Regions from separate parts of the Homo sapiens genome. Here region 2 is linked to region 1. The links are contacts of gene promoters, found by promoter capture Hi-C in blood cells and fetal thymus (Javierre and others, 2016). All regions are on one chromosome and are shown on one strand. The core of a region is centred on a gene start or on the middle of the fragment in contact, and the rest is flanking DNA. Distances in the headings are between cores, read along the strand shown.

Evidence for each region. The method cuts DNA at HindIII sites, captures the fragments that hold promoters and counts their contacts. A CHiCAGO score of 5 or more calls a contact.
Region 2: a contact is called between a fragment that was not itself captured here and the fragment with the promoter of IL17RC in region 1, in 7 of 17 cell types (naive CD4 T cells, activated CD4 T cells, non-activated CD4 T cells and 4 more). The highest score is 8.1, in naive CD4 T cells.

What each region holds. Positions count from the first base shown.
Region 1 is chr3:9,915,848-9,920,814 of GRCh38, forward strand. IL17RC (interleukin 17 receptor C) reads left to right here and starts at 1,251. Exons shown (of 19, transcript NM_153460.4): 1 at 1,251-1,573; 2 at 1,866-1,887; 3 at 2,076-2,228; 4 at 2,488-2,562; 5 at 2,653-2,762; 6 at 4,644-4,755. The coding sequence starts at 1,469. IL17RE (interleukin 17 receptor E) reads left to right here. Exons shown (of 16, transcript NM_153480.2): 16 at 1-550. It also overlaps the pseudogene RNU6-882P. RefSeq lists enhancers at 504-1,043, 973-1,162. The HindIII fragment of the contact is 19,830 bases long and covers 1-4,967 here.
Region 2 is chr3:10,259,598-10,264,564 of GRCh38, forward strand. It overlaps TATDN2 (TatD DNase domain containing 2), which reads left to right. Exons shown (of 8, transcript NM_014760.4): 3 at 540-1,073. Among named protein-coding and RNA genes, the nearest start is that of TATDN2, 14 kb to the left of the region's middle. RefSeq lists a silencer at 4,338-4,527. The HindIII fragment of the contact is 1,770 bases long and covers 1,082-2,851 here.

The DNA.
Region 1 (4,967 bases), core at 1-2,500:
GCAACGGACACTGGCTGGAACCCCGGAATGAGCCTTCGACCCTGAAATCCTTGGGGTGCCTCGAGGACGACTGGCCGAAAAGCCGCATTCCCTGCCTCACAGGCCGGAAGTCCCAGCCCAGTCCCCGCGCGCGTCCCTCTTCCTCCTCATACTTTCCCTTGACTGAGAGCTCCTCTAACCCCTGTTCTGATGGGGGAGGGCGGTCTTCCCACTTCCTCTCCAGAACTCCAGAAAGAGCAGTGTGCTTATGCTTCAGTCCAGGCTGGAGAGGTTGGGGCCGGGGTAGGGAGGCAGGAGCCATGTCAGTTCTGAAGGAGGGTGAGGCGGTGGGGGATTGCAGGGGGCGGCTGAGAGAAAACCTCCTTGGGGGCCAGGGATTCCCTTTCCCACTCTGAGGCTCTGGCCAGAGGGAGAGAGGACTCTGGACCTAGGAAAAGAGGCTTTTGGCTCCAGGTGGTCAGGACAGTGGGGGTTGGGGGTGGGGTGGGTGGGTGCTGGCGGTGGGGACCAAGATCCGGAAAGATGAATAAAGACAAACATGACAAACTAAGAAAACACAGTGTGCTTCTCTAGTGTGGCTGGGGAGCCTGCCTGGTGGGGTATGTGTCAGTGTGCTGGCCCAAATCCTCTGTGTCCATACCGCATGGCATCCGTCACATTCTTACAAGCAATGCCTCCAAAAGCAAAGGAGGATGGGGCAATCTCCTTGATCCCCCCCAGTGATTCTTACAAGAGGAGAGGAAAACAGAGGCTTCGCCAGATGGTGTGTCCATCATCACACAGCCGGCCCACAGCAACAGCACAGATGGGACCCCTGTCTGCCAGGCTCTGGGGTCCTGGGTTCCTTCTACTCCCCATACCGCATTTGAGCCAGGCAGTGGTGAAAAGCCCACTTTCTGGTGCCTTTTGTCCGTGCTTTTAGAGCTCCTGTCCCACAAAGGGTTACCGAGGCCCAAAGAGTGTCTGAAGGGACCGAGTGTGCCTAGTAAGGGGAGACTTAGTGGGCCCAGGACTCCAGGGCTGTGTCCTCCTTAGGGCTCCGGGGGTGAGTAAGAGCTCCCTTACTCAGCCGTGATGCATTCGCTGTCTTCTTCAGGGGCCCCTCCCAGCCAGGTGTCAGCAGAGGGAGAGGAGAGCCAAAGAAGGAGGAGGTGCGGCCACCACCCTAGTCCAAGGCTGCTGGCTCCCAAGCCTGGTGTTGGTGGGAGGGACAGAGAGGGGCGGGAACAGCCAGCAGCCTGCCGGGAGCCAAAACGAAAGCACTCCGTGCTGGAAGTAGGAGGAGAGTCAGGACTCCCAGGACAGAGAGTGCACAAACTACCCAGCACAGCCCCCTCCGCCCCCTCTGGAGGCTGAAGAGGGATTCCAGCCCCTGCCACCCACAGACACGGGCTGACTGGGGTGTCTGCCCCCCTTGGGGGGGGGCAGCACAGGGCCTCAGGCCTGGGTGCCACCTGGCACCTAGAAGATGCCTGTGCCCTGGTTCTTGCTGTCCTTGGCACTGGGCCGAAGCCCAGTGGTCCTTTCTCTGGAGAGGCTTGTGGGGCCTCAGGACGCTACCCACTGCTCTCCGGTGAGTCTGGAACCCTGGGGAGACGAGGAAAGGCTCAGGGTTCAGTTTTTGGCTCAGCAAAGCCTTAGCCTGGCTCCTGTCACTGCTGCCACTGCCAGAACTGCCCTGTCTGGTCTGTCTGGTGCTGATGGTAGAAGAGAAGAACGGGGAAGGGGCAAGAGCTGGGTCTGTCTTTCTCTGGGAGGGTCTGGGAATACGGAGCCCCAGAAAAAGGTAGGTGGAGGTCTTAGGCAGAGAACAGTGCCTAGATGGTGGGGGCACAAATTCTGACTCTCCTTTCTTTCCTTCCCAGGGCCTCTCCTGCCGCCTCTGGGGTAAGTATCCCTACTTTTAAAAAGAATTTCCCAGGTTGGCCGAAGGGAGCAGAGCTGTCCCAGGCCCATGCCCTCCATGCCCACCTCAGCCTAGGACAGCCAAGTTCTTTGGCTCTCTGGGTATGTCAGGTGCCACCAAATTCTGGGCTTGGAACAGCTTCAGCTCCCACCCGCTCCTCCACACACAGACAGTGACATACTCTGCCTGCCTGGGGACATCGTGCCTGCTCCGGGCCCCGTGCTGGCGCCTACGCACCTGCAGACAGAGCTGGTGCTGAGGTGCCAGAAGGAGACCGACTGTGACCTCTGTCTGCGTGTGGCTGTCCACTTGGCCGTGCATGGTGAGCAAGTCATCCTGTGACAGTGCATGTGTACACGTGAGTGTGTCTGGGGTGGGCATGAGGGCCAGGGGATCTCTCAAGCAGTGCTAGGCATCCTCAGTGTTCTCCTGGAGGACACCAGCAGAAGGACCCCCAGGCCAGTGTGGTCTCCCCAGCCCCTGCTTCCCAGCACTGGGCTTTCCAGAAGGAAGCCAACGCCAAAGCCAGCCAGCCCAGAGCAGGGGGCCTCACCCAGGGCCTTGCTCTTGGGTCCTTCTAGGGCACTGGGAAGAGCCTGAAGATGAGGAAAAGTTTGGAGGAGCAGCTGACTCAGGGGTGGAGGAGCCTAGGAATGGTGAGGAGAACCTGGCTGGCCCAACTGCCCCATGCCAAGGCCTGGCCTGCCGCTCCTGGGCCTGACTGACCCCTGCCCTGTTGCCCACAGCCTCTCTCCAGGCCCAAGTCGTGCTCTCCTTCCAGGCCTACCCTACTGCCCGCTGCGTCCTGCTGGAGGTGCAAGTGCCTGCTGCCCTTGTGCAGTTTGGTCAGTCTGTGGTATGCAAAATAATAATAATCACCTTCTAAACCTAAAATCTATAAAACTTTTTCACATGCATTATCTCTTTGAGGATTACAAAAGAATTAAATTTATTGAAACCCTTCAGTACCAGGCATTACAGCCAGTGTTTTACAGGTATCAACTTATTTAATTCTCACAACAGCCATGTGAGGTGGGACTATTCTTTTGATTCTGATCAGCGCTGTGGGCAAGTCCCTTCAGCCTGTTATGCCTCAGCTTTTATGTCTGTAAAATGGGGATGAGAATAGTTCTACTTCATATGCTTGACTGCGAGAAATCACCAAGCGTTTTTCAGGGTGCTTCTACTATTTTCCCCTCCTACCAGCAGTGTATGGGAGTCCTAGTTGCTTCCCATCTTTGCCAACACTTGATGGTGTAATTTTATTTTATTTTTAAATTAAATATATTTGAATTTTAAATATATGGGACCCTCCATGAATTTGCATGTCATCCTCAGGCACGGGCCTTGCTAATCTTTTCTGTATTGTTCCAGTTGTAGTATATGTGGTGCCAAAACAAGCATAAGTGTTGTAATTGTCATAATTTTTCTGCATATGTAGTGGTTTGCCATTGTGGTTTTAATTTGTATCTTCCAATGACTGATGAAGTTGAGCACTTTTTTCACATGCTTATTGGCTATTTGTGTAACTTCCTTGTGAAATATCTCTTAAAGTTTTTTTGTTTTTGTTTTTGTTTTTGTTTTTGCCACATAAAAAAACAATAGTTCTGGCCGGGCACAGTGGTTCACACCTGTAATCCCAGCACTTTGGGAGGCTGAGGCGGGCAGATCACGAAGTCAGGAGATTGAGACCATCCTGGCTAACACTGTGAAACCCTGCCTCCACTAAAAAAATACAAAAAATTAGCCAGGCATGGTGGTGGGCGCCTGTAGACCCAGCTACTCGGGAGGCAGAGGCAGGAGAATGGCGTGAACCCGGGAGGTGGAGCTTGCAGTGAGCCGAGATCGCGCCACTGCACTCCAGCCTGGGCGACAGAGCGAGATTCCGTCTCAAAAAAAAAGAATAGTCCCACCTCACATGACTGTTGTGAGAATTAAATTAAGTTGGTACCTGTAAAACACTGGATGTAATGCCTGGCACTGAATAATTTCAATAAATTTAATTCTTTTGTAATCCTCAAAACTACCTGATGAGGCATTATTAGTATCCTCATTTTCCAGATAGATAAAATGAGGCTTGGAGAGGGGAGGTCTGTGGGCTGGATGCACTTCTCTGTACTCTTGGACCAAAGAAAGAGTCCTACCATACATACCATGGTATACTTACCATGGTGTAAGTACCATGGTGCAGGGTGTTGGGGCTTCTCCCTGCCTTAGGAGGCCACATGTACCTGGAAGGTCTATTTCCACTGGGGTCAAATCACTCAAACCCTTTGACTTTCCCTCCAACCTCCAGCCCCCAGCCAATATCCTATCTGGAGAATTGTAGACTGGGAGAACATCTGCTTGGTCCATGTCACAAGCAGTTGTAAGGAACACTGAGGCACTGGGTTGAGTGTGAGAACCACTTCTGTGGGGAGGGGTGTGCCATATTGTGTTGGGGTGTCTCATCTCCTTAGCTTTGGCCAGGTGATCTAGCACAGCAGGGTGGGTGCAGGGATTTAAATGTCTAGGGCCTTTTCCCGCCCTGGTGACACTCTTACTGAGGACATTTGCTTTAGAATTGAGGCCCCTTGAAAGAAAGGTGAATAGTAGATTTCAGGCTATACAGTATAAATACAGTCATTAGTTGGGGGAGGAGGGCAGTGAGCAGAGTGGTCCCTGCAGATGATCCCACAGCCCTTGGCCTGGATTCTGAGCCCTGCACCGCCAGCCTTCCTCACCCCTCTCCTCACAGGGCTCTGTGGTATATGACTGCTTCGAGGCTGCCCTAGGGAGTGAGGTACGAATCTGGTCCTATACTCAGCCCAGGTACGAGAAGGAACTCAACCACACACAGCAGCTGCCTGGTAAGTGGACCCCCAAGTCCTGGCCCCCTAGCCTCTGTCCCCTCTGGCCATTCCCCCTCCTGATTTCACCCTCTTCTAGCTCCATCCACTCTCCGGCAGGGGTCTGAGCTGCTATCCTCCCCAGAGTCAGTCCCTCGGACCTTCTCTCTCTGGGTGATATGGCTTTCCAGCCCCTGGGGAAGGTTCTTTGAGCATTGGATAGATGTGGGTGG
Region 2 (4,967 bases), core at 717-3,216, 340 kb after region 1:
AGGTATTTTCCAAAACCAAGTTGATTATTTGAGGGGAAGTGTTTGCAGAGAACTTTCAGGAGGCTTTGGGTATGGTGGGAAAAACACTGCACTCAGAACTGGGGGATTGGAGTTCCTGGGGCTAGCCCTTCCCCTCACTGGGTCCTCAGGTTTCCTTTACCCTTAGATATGGGATTGGGCTAGCTGGTTTCTAGGGCCCTTTCCAGTGGGAAGAGCTTGAGCTGCTGTTTTGCCTGAAGTGTAGTCCTTGCCTTCCAGGAGCTTGCAGTCTGGTTTAATGAGAGTGTTCATTTCAGCTCCTTCCGTCCCCTTGCAGTGAAAGGATATCATCTGCTGAGCATGAGAAGGCGAATGCTAAGAAATGGCAGCAATCAGCCCCTCTTACAGTGCCACTTCACCACCCGGAGAGAACCTTTGCCTTAGCCACAGTCACTTTCCCTTTGACTGGTAGAACCACCACTGATTTATAATTTGCCAAATGCTTCATGTACGAAAGTGCCCTTGGAACAGCCCTTTCAATTCTGTTTTTTTTTTCCCAGGTTGATTCCAAAGATAGTTCTCATAACTCCACAAACTCTGAATTTGCAGCTGAAGCTGAGGGTCAGAATGATACAATTGAGGAACCCAACAAGGTCCAGAAAAGGAAGAGGGATAGACTTCGAGACCAGGGCTCCACAATGATCTACCTGAAGGCTATCCAGGGCATCCTGGGGAAATCGATGCCAAAAAGGAAGGGAGAGGCTGCCACTCGGGCAAAACCAAGCGCAGCAGAGCATCCCAGCCATGGAGAAGGACCAGCCAGGAGTGAAGGACCAGCCAAGACTGCAGAAGGAGCAGCCAGGAGTGTCACAGTCACTGCTGCTCAGAAGGAGAAAGACGCAACCCCAGAGGTCAGCATGGAGGAGGATAAGACAGTGCCAGAGAGGAGCAGCTTCTATGACAGGAGAGTAGTTATAGACCCTCAAGAGAAACCCAGTGAGGAGCCCCTTGGGGACCGAAGGACTGTCATTGACAAATGCTCTCCACCCCTAGAGTTCTTGGATGACTCTGACTCTCATTTAGAAATCCAAAAGGTGAGTAAAGCTTGTACCAGGCATCTGACTTTTTAGTTCTGTTGATGAAATGTGTTCCATCTTTCTAGTTTGATCCTAAGTGTTACTAATTAAAAATAGTACTTTACTTAACCAGGCCTCCAGGGAACAAACTGATGGTTTTCTTCTAACATACTTTTCAGATTTTCAGAGTTATTAATAAACCTAAACTAAGTGCTTTTTTTTTTTTTTGAAGGATTTATATGTTAGGATATGGGTTTAGCTGCTGTGTAAAAGGCCAAAATCACAGTGGCTTAAACAGAATATAAGTTTGGCTTAAGAAGGATGGCTCCATCATGTCAGAGATACTGGTACCTTTTGTCTTGATTCTCTATCACCCCTCAACACAGTGTCCATCTCTTGGTGTGAAATGGATACTCTGATAGGACTCAGGGTTTGTTATCTGGGCATTCTGGCCAGTGGGAAGGGGAGAAGAGGAGAGTGCATTCCTTCCCTGTTAAGAGCTTGGCTCAAGAGTTGCACATGTTGTATCTGCTGTTGACAAGAGCGGGGAAACCCGGCTGACACCTGGCTGCAAGGGAGTCTGGAAAATCAGCCTTTATCTAGGCAGACTTGTACCTGGATAACCAGAGAAGAAGGGAAGGATGTCATTGGACGGAAACTAGTGATTTTTAACATAGCTTATAATTGAGGGGAAGCATTCCTCCATCTTTTTCTTTTTTTTTTTTTTTTTGTTGTTGGGACAGAGTCTTGCTCTGTTGCCCAGGCTGGAGTGCGATGGTGCAATCTTGGCTCACTGCAACCTCCACCTCCTGGGTTCAAGCAATTCTCCTGCCTCAGCCTCCTGAGTAGCTGGGATTACAGGTGTGCGCCACCAAACCGGCTAATTTTTGTATTTTTAGTAGATATGGGATTTCTCCATGTTGGCCAGGCTGGTCTCGAACTCCTGACCTCGTGATCCACCTGCCTTGGCCTCCCAAAGTGCCGGGATTACAGGCATGAGCCACTGTGCCAGGCCACATTCCTCCATCTTACTCGTCTCCACCCATCCTTTACTACTGCTCTGCAGGCAGCTTCTCTCATCTTTAGCTCTTTCTTCTAGTACTTACCCCATGTTTCTAAATAATCTTTACTGTTGATCAGTTTTTCAGTTTTAGATGTCTGAGGACTTCTTGCTTGGGCGATGAGAATTTAGTTCTCTATACCTCCTTCAGAAGCACCCACACCCAGGGACACATTAGCTTCCCCTTTCTGCAGCCTCCCTGTGTGGCTTGAATACCTTTTGGGTTAAGTCTGTGTAAGATTTGTTACTGCCATGTTCACAGCTGAGTCGCCTTGTATACTCTGATCACATTTTCTTTCTTGTAAAACTTCATTTTCCTTAAAGTTCATCATTACTTTGTTTTTCCTTTGGTTTTCCTGGTACCTTTCACTAATTAATCCCCAAACTGCGAGAGCTGTAAAATCCTTCTCAATACTGTCAAAATAAGGAATCTGTTTCTTTTTTTTCTCTCTTGGAGGTATACGTCCTCAGCCCTCTGTTGTCCTGCTCTGGTCTGGACTGCCTGCCGTCAGGCCAGCTGGCAGCTGTCTCTCTGGAGCCTCCTTCACATTTCTCCCGGATTGAGTCTTCTGCTACCTATACTCTGTGTCTTCTCATGTTCTTCTTCCTTGGTTTACTCTCACATTTTGGTGGAATACTTTTTCTAGTAGCTTCTTGAGAAAGGGTACATGGAGAAACTTTTTTTGGTAAACATGTGTCTGAGATTGCCTTTATTTTACCTTTAACCTTGATTACAAGCTTGGTTGGTTTTGGAATTCCAGGTTGGAAATTGTTTTGTTTGGGATTTTGAAGGCATTGCTCCTTTTCTTCTGGGCTTTTTTTTTTTTTTTTTTTTTTTTGAGGTGGAGTCTCGTTCTGTCTTGCCCAGGCTGGAGTGCACTGGTGTGATCTTGGCTCACTGCAGCCTCCACTTCCTGGGTTCAAGTGATTCTCCTGTCTCAGCCTCCCGAGTAGCTGGGATTACAGGCACACGCCACCACACCTGGCTAATTTTGTATTTTTGGTAGAGACAGAGTTTCATCATGTTGGCCAGGCTGGTCTCAAACTTCTGACCTGAGGTGATCCACCTGCCTAGGCTTCCCAAAGTACTGAGATTACAGGTGTAAGCCACTTCGCCTGGCCTCTTCTGGTTTTCTTGATGTCTGAAGCTATGCTGGTTCCTGAACCTTGGTATATGATTTTTTATTTTTTATTTTCTTTTGCTTTGAGACAGAGTTTTGCTCTGTCACCCAGGTTGGAGTCCAGTGGCGTGATCTCAGCTCACTGCAATCTTCACCTCCCAGGTTCAAGCGATTCTCCTGCCTCAGCCTTGTGAGTAGCTGGGATTACAGGCATGTGCCACCACACCCGGCTAATTTTTGTATTTTTAGTAGAGATGGGGTTTCACCATTTTGGTGAGGCTGGTGTCGAACTCCTGACCTCATGATCCGCCCGGCTCAGCCTCCCAAAGTGCTGGGATTACAGGTGTGAGCCACCGTGCCCAACCTGTATTTTTTTTTTTTTTCCCTCTGTGGAATCTTGTAGAATATATTTTGATCTCAGGGCTCTGAAATTTCATGGTGGTGGTGTCTACTTTGCTTAGCATGGGACATTCCCTTTCAATCTAGAAACCCTTGTACTTTAGCTGTGGGAAAAGTTCGTGAATTACTGTACTTCGCTGATGTTTTCTTTCCGTATTTTTCTTCTCTCTTTCTCTCTCTAGCTTCTCTACCTTCTTTCTCTTATTTGGATGTTGGATTTTTCAGGACTGGTCCTGTAATTTTATTGCCTTTCTCCCTTGTTTCTAGCCAATTTCTTGCTTTACTTTGTAGGATATTTCCTTTTCTTTATCTTCCAACCCAGCTGTTTATTTAGTTTTACTTTTCTACTGTCATGCTTTTTATTATCCAAGAGCTCTTTTGTTTTTTAATAACATCTCTGTTCTTGTTTCATCTTCTGTTATCTCTTTTAGGGAGTTCATGGTAGTTTTTTGGCTTGGTTTTAGTTTTCTTTAAGTTGCTTCTTTCCGTTTCTTTTGATCTCTTCTGTGTTAGAGGCTGCCTTCACATGTCTGGTAATCTTTGGTTGTCTGTTTATGATCAAGAATGGGAGGATTAAAAAGCTGTTTGGAAGCTCTGAGCGTAAAGACTTTGAGCTTTGCTTTGGGATGATCGGGAGAATATAACCCTCTTCCCCTTGCCATGTCACTGCTTTTAGGAAAGCCTCGAGACTGGTCACCTTGCCCAGAGGAGTGTTTTTCAGCCTGCTTAGGAGGAAAGGTGGCTGGGAGCTGGGTAGCGAAAGGGGCGGCTGCGGGGGCGGCGTCAGCATTCACTTAATCTTTGTCTTTTTGGTGCAGTACCAGTGCCCTCCACTGAGCTGACCAGGCCTTATTCTAGAGATCCTCTTGTTTTACTGTCTTCAAACAACTCACCTTCTCTGAGTATGAGGAGGGAATCTGGGATCTAACTCATTGGAAACCAGATTTCACCCTGTCCTCCTCCTTTTAATGTTCTTCTGTAACTCCAGTTCCTCCAGTTCCCAAGGTGCCCAGTACCGCGAGTGCCTGCTCTGTTCTAAGCTTTCCTGGTGCCTAGCTTAGGTCTCAGCCTTCTCTTGGTCTGCCAGTGAGGTGTTATTTGGCCATCTGCTTTCTAGCCTCCAGTGCGTGATCACTGTAGTCTCTTGTTCTTCCTGTTCTGGTGTTTTTGTTATTGTAGAGGGGTTTTATTTGTTTTTTGTTTGGTTTTTAGATTCTTTAGTTTTAGTGAGGTTTCAGGAAAGAGTAAAATAAGTCGAATTTGTTCAGTACATCCTTAGCCTAGAAAAGTTCTGGGAAAATTTCTTGATTATTTGATTTCTTGTCTGTTTCT